Regions from separate parts of the Homo sapiens genome. Here region 1 is linked to region 2. The links are contacts of gene promoters, found by promoter capture Hi-C in blood cells and fetal thymus (Javierre and others, 2016). All regions are on one chromosome and are shown on one strand. The core of a region is centred on a gene start or on the middle of the fragment in contact, and the rest is flanking DNA. Distances in the headings are between cores, read along the strand shown.

Region 1 (4,013 bases), core at 655-3,154, 1.6 Mb after region 2:
GCTTCTTAAAGATCATCCAATTCACTGCATTCTCTTCTCTCTCCTCCCAGAATCCAGCAATCAGTCATAAGATATATTTGTTGGCTCTCCTGCTAAGAAGCGAATGTGCTGACTAGCTAGCATGAGTTTGATTCAATAAAACAGCACTACACTCCATTAGTCAGACTATCTAATGATAACAGTGCTCATACATTAGGTACCCACGTGCCTTTTTGTTGCTCTTCACAATACTCCTATGAAGTACTACCTTGTATTTGACAGAAGATAGCAAAGTATCAGAGAAGGGAACTGACCTGTCTAGAGTCACACTAGTGAAAGCAAGTGATACAGGATTTAAATTCAGAGGTTCCATTTTCCAAACTCATGTCCTTTCCATTGCATTGTACTCCCTCTTTAGCTAGAAGTCAGGTTAGCACCAATCTGCCGGGACCTTCTCACCCCGAAGGTGCATGATAAAATCAAATATGAGAACCGACAAGGCCAAGGACCAGGTCACTCTGCCAAAAGTGCCTAAAACAGCCTTTCAGCTTCATCCATCAGCAGACAGCCACAAAACCACTCCCAACTGCAGCAGGCTGGTCTCCGGTCACCACTGTCTTATCTTGTCGGAAAACATCCTCTCTCCATGTGCCAAAAAGTTGAGTGGGAAAATAATTCCATCCTTTCAGAGCTAAACACTGTGCTGAGTCTCATCGCACACGGGTGGGCAAAGAAAGTTGACATTTACTGCTCACCCACTCTGTGCCTTGACCTGTGCAAGATGCTTTATGCTAGAACTCATTTAATTCTCAAGAACAACCTCATTTTACAGATAAGGATACAGAGGCTCTAAGAGTTAAATTTACCCAAGAGGACATGGTAAGTAAGTGCCAGTGCAGGGAACAAATTCAGGTCCCACTCTAAAATCTGTCTCTTTCCAGATCTCAAGGCACACCACTGAGTTGCCTTTCACCTTTCTCCCAAGATGAGGATTGCTCTGGCATGACTTCACCTTTCTCTTCTGAAGCAATTCCAAGTTCACTTCTCTGCCCACTGACAGTTCACTCTCCTTTCCCTGCCACTGTCCCTTCTGCAAACGCACAATCTTTTACCCAACCTAACGCCCCCAGCCTCGTAGAATAACACTGCGCAGTTGGTTTACAGTCACAAAGCACTTTCAAGACAGTGTTTCGTCTCCTGGTCACCACAGTCCGGTGAAGCCGGCAAAGCAGATAAAAGCATCCCCATTTTACAAGAAAGCCATCTTCCCAAGGTCGCGGAATAAAAAGCAGGTGAAATCGGAAGCAGAACCCCAGGTCTTGACCCCTGGTCCTCGGCTCATCCCACTGCTCCGCACAGCCGCCCACGATCCAGCCTCCACCTCCGCGATGTCACAAGATGCTCCCTGGGCCAGCAGCTCACATCCCCCACCCCCATCCCACAACCACCCACCTGCAGCGGCCCTGCAGGCCCCGCCGACCCTTCCCCCACGGTCCCTCTCTCTTCACCAGCCCCTCCCACTAGGGCCTCCTTCCCCCGCTAGATCCCTCCGCTCAGGCGCCCCCTCCCGCACAGGCTGCCGGCGAGCCCAGCCTCGGCCTCCCACAGACCCTCGTCCCGCCTCCACGCTTCGTCACCCCAGCCCCTCCTCCTGTCAGCCCGCGGCCCAGCCCGCCGACGTTACCTTCTCCAAGGATGCTGGTCTCTGCACCGCCAGGGAGCGGGCCAGTGACAGGACCGTGTTGAAATAGAAGCCCCGCGAGGCGCTGGAGCCGGAGCCGGAGCAGCCGCCGCCGCCTCCGCCTCCGCCTCCGCCTCCCCGGGCCGGGGCCGCCGCCATCACCTCACGAGCCGCGGCGCTGCCCGCCGGCTCCCCGCTCCTGGCCCGCGAGCGCCCGACCTCAGGGCGCAGGCGTAGGTGCATCCGGCTTTCCCGCCACGTGACCTCTCAGTTGCTGACACTAGATAGGGCGTGGCTGCGGGGCGGGCCCACCGCTGCAGGGGAGAGAGGGGATGGACAGTAGGCTGCGGTTGCGCGCGCCGGATGTGGGCCCCCCCCAGCCGACCTGCGCGATGGTCGGCTCCGAGGGCGGGGCCACCTGCGCGCGACGCGCGGAAGGAGTTCGCGCGACGACCGCGGGGTCGGCGGGCGGGGCGAGGCCCTGGACGGCGGCGGCAGTGGGGCTCCTCCTTCTGTTTCCCAGACCGAGAGCCGCGCCGGCACCATGTCAGCTTACCCTAAAAGCTACAATCCGTTCGACGACGACGGGGAGGACGAAGGCGCCCGGCCGGCCCCTTGGAGGGACGCCCGAGACCTCCCCGACGGGCCCGACGCGCCCGCGGACAGGCAGCAGTACTTGCGGCAGGAGGTCCTCCGCAGGGCTGAGGCCACGGCCGCCAGCACCAGCAGGTCCCTGGCCCTCATGTACGAGTCCGAGAAGGTTGGGGTCGCCTCTTCCGAGGTGAGCCTGGGGCAGGGCTGGTGTGGACTCGCCGGTCTCTGTGCTGTCAAACGGAGACGAGAAATGTTTTGCTCACAATCTTTTGAGAATTCTCAAGTTGCCTAGCATAGATTCTTGCACCTTAGTGACTCGATGGTGGTAACAATCTGTTAACTATGTAAAGGTATGTGCATCTGGAGTACTTGAAGAGGGCAGTTTACCCCAGAAATCTTCCTTAGCTATTAGTCTGCTTCGTTGATTTTTTTTTTCTTACGCCTAGCTCACGGGGAAACGCCAGATTATTTTCTGTCCAGGTGAGTAAAAATTCTGAACAGCAGGTCCTAGGTTTGGGAAATGGAGAGTCCGTTTCTTCGACATTATTTCCTGTGCAAAATCTGGCACAGGGTTTTGGCCATTCCTTCCGGAGTGAGCCAGAAAGAGAGGACTATGTGCCTGCGAGTGTCAGGTGATACCCTGAAGCATCAGGGCAGGTGGTCCACGAGTTCTTCCCGCATCATTGACATCTCCACCTAACCAACCAATAGAGGTATTGAAGTCCCTTCAGCCCAGACAGCTGCCTAGTTGACCAAAGCCTGGGTTTGATTGAGTCCAGGGTCTTACCTTTACTTCCCAAATCCTAGACAAATAGTGTGCGGGTTAAGAGTTTGTTGCTCCAACTCATCTTCATCAGTTCTTCCCATCCTTAGATTTCAGAGAGTAGTACCTTCAATAACAATTATTCTGGCCGAGCGCAGTGACTCACGCCTGTAATCCCAGCACTTTGGGAGGCCTAGGCGTCGGATCGCCTGAGCTCAGGAGTTCGAGACCCGCCTGGGCAACATGGTGAAACCCTGTCTCCACTAAAATTAAAAAAAAAAAAAAACTAGCCGGGTGTGGCGGTGCGCCTGTAGTCGCAGCTACTCAGGAGGCTGAGGTAGGAGAATCGCTTGTACCCGGGAGGCAGAGGTTGCAGTTAGCTGAGATCGTGCTGCTGCACTCCAGCATGGGCAACAGACCGAGATCCTGGAGGGTCTTTTTCTTTTTCTTTTTTTTTTTTTTTTGAGATGGAATCTCGCTCTGTCGCCCTTGCTTGGGTACAGTGGCATGATCTGGGCTCACTGCAACTTCCGCCTCCGGGATTCAGACGATTCTCCTGCCTCAGCCTCCCGAGTAGCTGGGACTACAGGTGCGCCGCCACACCCGGCTAATTTTTTTTGTATTTGTAGTGGAGACAGGGTTTTGCCCCGTTGGCCAGGCTGGTCTGGAACTCCTGACCTCAGGCAGTCCGCCCGCTTTGGCCTCCCAAAGGGCTGGGATTACAGGCGTGAGCCACCATACCGGTCGAGAATGATTCTTTATTGTACACCACAGTCTCTCTTCAGCCTGCTAATGAAACAGTTTTGTTTGGACAGAGAAAAAAAAAGGTTTAAAAAAATGTATAAGCCAGGCGCGGTTGTACTTCTGTAATCCCAACAATTTGTAAGGCTGAGGTAGGCAGATCATTTTAGCCCAGGAGTTTGAGACCAGCAGGGGTAACTGCGTCTCTACAAAATTTGAAAAATTAGCCAGGCATGGTGGCACACACATGTGAGT
Region 2 (3,947 bases), core at 213-2,712:
TAGCCATGTAACTTTTGCTGAAGGAATTAGAATATTAACCTCAGTGACCCATGGTAGAAAACAGGATATCACTATCTGCCTCAGTTATCATGAGGATTAAATTAAACCAGATTTATAAAATACAGTAGTCTAGTGAGTGGCAAGAGAAACGGCTCAGTAAATGATAACTACATCATCATCATTATTATGAGCAGCAGCAGTATTTTGCTACCTCAACATGACTGGTGCTGGCTTAGCTTAGTGGCAGAATGAAGCCCGGACAGATGTCAGGGCACTCCCACCTCCATACAACTTCCACTGTGTCACTAACCAAGTGACCCTGGCAGGATCCCCTGGATATCAAGTTTCCAGTCTGCAGAATGAGGGGACTGGACTGCACTACACAGTTCCCAAGGCTTTTCCCGTCTGCATCTAGGGCTAACAGTGCTCTGCACTGTGAAAATAGGAACTTTCAAGCAAGCACGTTCCTCGATGTACTACTTTGTGGTCAAAAAGACTTGAGTCTGAATCCTGTTCTTATTGAATGAAGATGAGTTCTTTAACACTTTTGAGACTCGGTTTCCTCATCTAGAAAAGAGTAAGCGAATCGCAACGAATGGTAGTGTGATGATTTAACACAGAGCACTCAGGGAGGAGCCGCTGGCTATCCCTCCTCTGCCGCACCTCCCAGGGTAAACGTGGGGACCAGCACCGCTCCCGGGCAGACCCGCGAGCGGCCCGCACGACGCCCGACCTGAGCCTTTGCTCAAAGCAGGGGGCCAGTCCTTATGTTTCTGAACACAAACAAATGGAGAACAAACTGGGACCTTATTAAAAAGGCAGGCTTTGGGGGTGTTACTGCATTGAAAAGCCCTATTTAGGCTTGGCCCTGAGAAATTTTTCTCTTGGGTCACGCATGTTCACGGTCCTCCCAGGCGAAGCCGCCCTGGGGACGAAAACCGATCACAGAGGCAAACTCAGGGGCGAATAAGGACCGCAGGACGCCAAGGAGGGGCGTGGAGCTGTGGGATCCGCGCGGCCCTTGGGTTGCCCTGCCTGCAGCGGGAATTTGTGTGCCTCCTCGCGGGCACTGAGCGGGGCGTCCCAGGGGGCGTTGGCTTCCACCCCCACCATTCCCCAGCCGGCCCCGCCGGTAACGGGCTTCGGCGACGGCACCCAAGCGGGTCCTCAGGAGCGGCCGCCGCGCCCGGGACGCCGCAGCCCCAGCCCAGGTGGGAGGTCGGAAATCGGCGCGGCCAGCTGGGCAGCGGCTCAGCGGGGCTGGGGGCGCGGGGTCAAGCCTGGCAGTCCGGCCCGGCGGAGGCGCGGCTGACAGGGCAGCCCCCCAGCCCGCCGGGCCTCACCTGGAAGTGCTCCTGAAAGCGAACAGGGAGGATCTGCGCCATGGCTGGTGCGGGACCTCGGCGGCGGCGGCGGCAGCGGCAGGAATGAACGCCGACCCCTCGCGCGGGCTGACCGGTGGCGACGGCGCAGGCGCAGTGCCCCGAGCTCCCGGTCCTGGCCCCCGCCCTCCTCCCTGACCGCGCCCCGGCCCGCACCCCCTTTCCCCGCCCCTTCCCCCGCCCCTGCCCCGCCCCTGCCCCGCCTCTGCCCCGCCCCTGCCCCCGCCCCTGCCCCCGCCCCTGCCCCCGCCTCTGCCCCGTCCCGCCTGCGCGGATCCCTCCGCCCGCTCCGAGGGTCCGCGGAAAGTAGTCCCGCGCGCCCTCTGCCCTGACGCGGTGTGTGCCAGCTACCCGAGTGAAAGGTTTTCGGGGGATTAATCCTGATGGGGTCTGCGGCGGCCCTTGCCCAGCGCCTTCCACATGTGGAGCGGGCCAGTGGTGCTAGTTCTGCCGCCAACTCTGGACGGTTGAGTTCAGGGCCACTTTTTACTCAGGCACGGATGTGACAGAAAGATGGAAAAGGGTCTTGGAAGAACCACATGTGCCGTATAACGAACGACCTTTTGGTCTGAGGAGGACCGTGTATATGACGGTGGTCCCATAACATGATAACGGAGCTGGAAACTTCCTGTCCTCTGGTGAGGGCTTAGCTAAGGACATTTCCTCTCCTGTATTTGGAGATACACGTACAGGTATGTCATTACCGTGCCAGGGGAATAACGCACCTCACACGCGGTGCGGGTTTGCGGCCTAGCAGCAGCGGACCGCATCAGCTGCCTAGTTGTGTAGTGGCTGTGCCATCTGAGTTTGTGTAAGTTACCTTGTGATGATCCCACAACCGAGACGCATGTCTCAGAATGCATGGATGCATGGGACGCGTGACTGTACGTGTTACAGACGTGTTTCGGCGTGAGGCTCGGCCCCTGCTCCTTTAGGAAACACCTTTCCTGGCTCATGCGGTTTCTAGAGAACACTGTGTCGGAATATCAATGTAGAGAGTCAGCGAAGGTCATCTAGCAGCAGATGACCAGCCCCAGGCCAGTGAGGATCACCCAGAGTGCCCGTGGCTGCACGACAGTAGTAGCAGGTGGAAGCTGGAGCCCACACCTGGTTTGCCCAGCAGCCAGTTGTTTTTCCGAGGCACCGTTGGCTGATGTTTTGCATACAGATGATTCAGCTGCATAAAAGATGTCTGTCAGGAAAGGGAAGCCCTTGGCATTCAGCACAGGCACTCCCTACGGGGTAATCGATAGCCGTCTCTGCTGCTTCCCATGTTGCTCACTGGTAATTTTAAGAAATGAACGGCCCACCTTGAATAAGACAAGGATGGTGCAATTATTTGCGCAATGGCTTGACCATCTAGTAGCCAAAAATATGTTAAGGAATAGAACAGACTGTTCACTTTCAAATTAAATCTCTTTTCCAGTATTAGCCAAGACCTCTGCAGCCCGCCCTTTCTAAAATCCATGTGGCCTCATCCGCTAAATATAGAGCTGGGTTTTGCTGTGGTTAGTACTACATTTCCCAAATCTCTTTATTTTGGCAATGATGCCTGTGACTCCAAGTACCCTTTACCCCAAACATTATATAAATTTTTTAGTAATTAATACCATCACTCCCTAAATCACCTTCCCCAGGGCTTTTTGGGGATTAAAACTAAAATTTTATACCCTAAAAGAAAGAATTTAAGAAAATCATAGTTAAGCAAAGTGACAGGATTGTTAATACGTCGGGACCTCAAGTGGGGATTAAGTTTCAACATTAATTTTAGAGGAGACACAAATCTTTCTGTCTCTTCAAACCATAGAAGAGACAGAAAGCACAACAGTTATTTGAATAGACAGAAGTGAATATAAGTGATAGTTGTAGTTAACAGGAAATAAAGTTGTTAATATACTTGTAAAAAAATTAAATGTTCTGACTTGAAAGGGACTTTAATATTCTCACCACTTGTAGGTAACTTGCTAAGTAACCCTAAAAAAACCTTTCAATTCTTTTTTTTTTTTTTTTTTTTTTGAGACAAGAGTCTCGCTCTGTCGCCCAGGCTGGTGTGCAGTGGCACGATCTCTGCTCACTGCAACCTCTGCCTCTCAGGTTCCAGCCATTCTCCTGCCTCAGCCTCCCAAGTAGCTGGGACTACAGGCGCACGCCACCGCACCTGGCTAATTTTTCATTTTTAGTAGAGACAGGGTCTCACCATGTTGACCAGGCTGGTCTCAAACTCCTGGCCTCAGGTGATCCATCCACCTCGGCCTTCCAAAGTGCTGGGATTACAGGTGTGAGCCACCGCGCCTGGCCCGGGATTAAGTTTCAACATTAATTTTGAAGGGGACACAAACCTTCAAACCACAGAAGAGAGAGAAAGTGCATCAGTTATTTAAACAAAGGGAACTGAATATAAACAATAGTTAACAGGAAGTAAATTTAAAATAATAAAAAGAAAATCCCAAGATATGGAGTTACAAACATAGGACACAGCTACCACCCCTAGAGCTCAAAGATGAAAGAGAAGCTGGAATTATTACAGCTTAAAGGAAGGGCTTGCAGAGCTGGAATTCAGATCTC

The links. The method cuts DNA at HindIII sites, captures the fragments that hold promoters and counts their contacts. A CHiCAGO score of 5 or more calls a contact.
Region 1: a contact is called between the fragment with the promoter of PI4KA here and the fragment with the promoter of CLTCL1 in region 2, in 5 of 17 cell types (activated CD4 T cells, total CD4 T cells, fetal thymus and 2 more). The highest score is 7.9, in activated CD4 T cells.

Annotation. Positions count from the first base shown.
Region 1 is chr22:20,856,907-20,860,919 of GRCh38, forward strand. PI4KA (phosphatidylinositol 4-kinase alpha) reads right to left here and starts at 1,905. Exons shown (of 55, transcript NM_058004.4): 1 at 1,664-1,905. The coding sequence starts at 1,819. It overlaps SNAP29 (synaptosome associated protein 29), which reads left to right and starts at 2,101. Exons shown (of 5, transcript NM_004782.4): 1 at 2,101-2,441. The coding sequence starts at 2,205. RefSeq lists silencers at 1,514-1,563, 1,584-2,343 and an enhancer at 2,023-2,832. The HindIII fragment of the contact is 10,120 bases long and covers 1-4,013 here.
Region 2 is chr22:19,290,257-19,294,203 of GRCh38, forward strand. It overlaps CLTCL1 (clathrin heavy chain like 1), which reads right to left and starts at 1,463. Exons shown (of 33, transcript NM_007098.4): 1 at 1,344-1,463. The coding sequence starts at 1,385. It overlaps LOC105372859 (a long non-coding RNA gene), which reads left to right and starts at 1,691. Exons shown (of 6, transcript XR_938002.3): 1 at 1,691-2,074. RefSeq lists an enhancer at 652-1,165 and silencers at 1,276-1,460, 1,342-1,581. The HindIII fragment of the contact is 6,040 bases long and covers 1-3,947 here.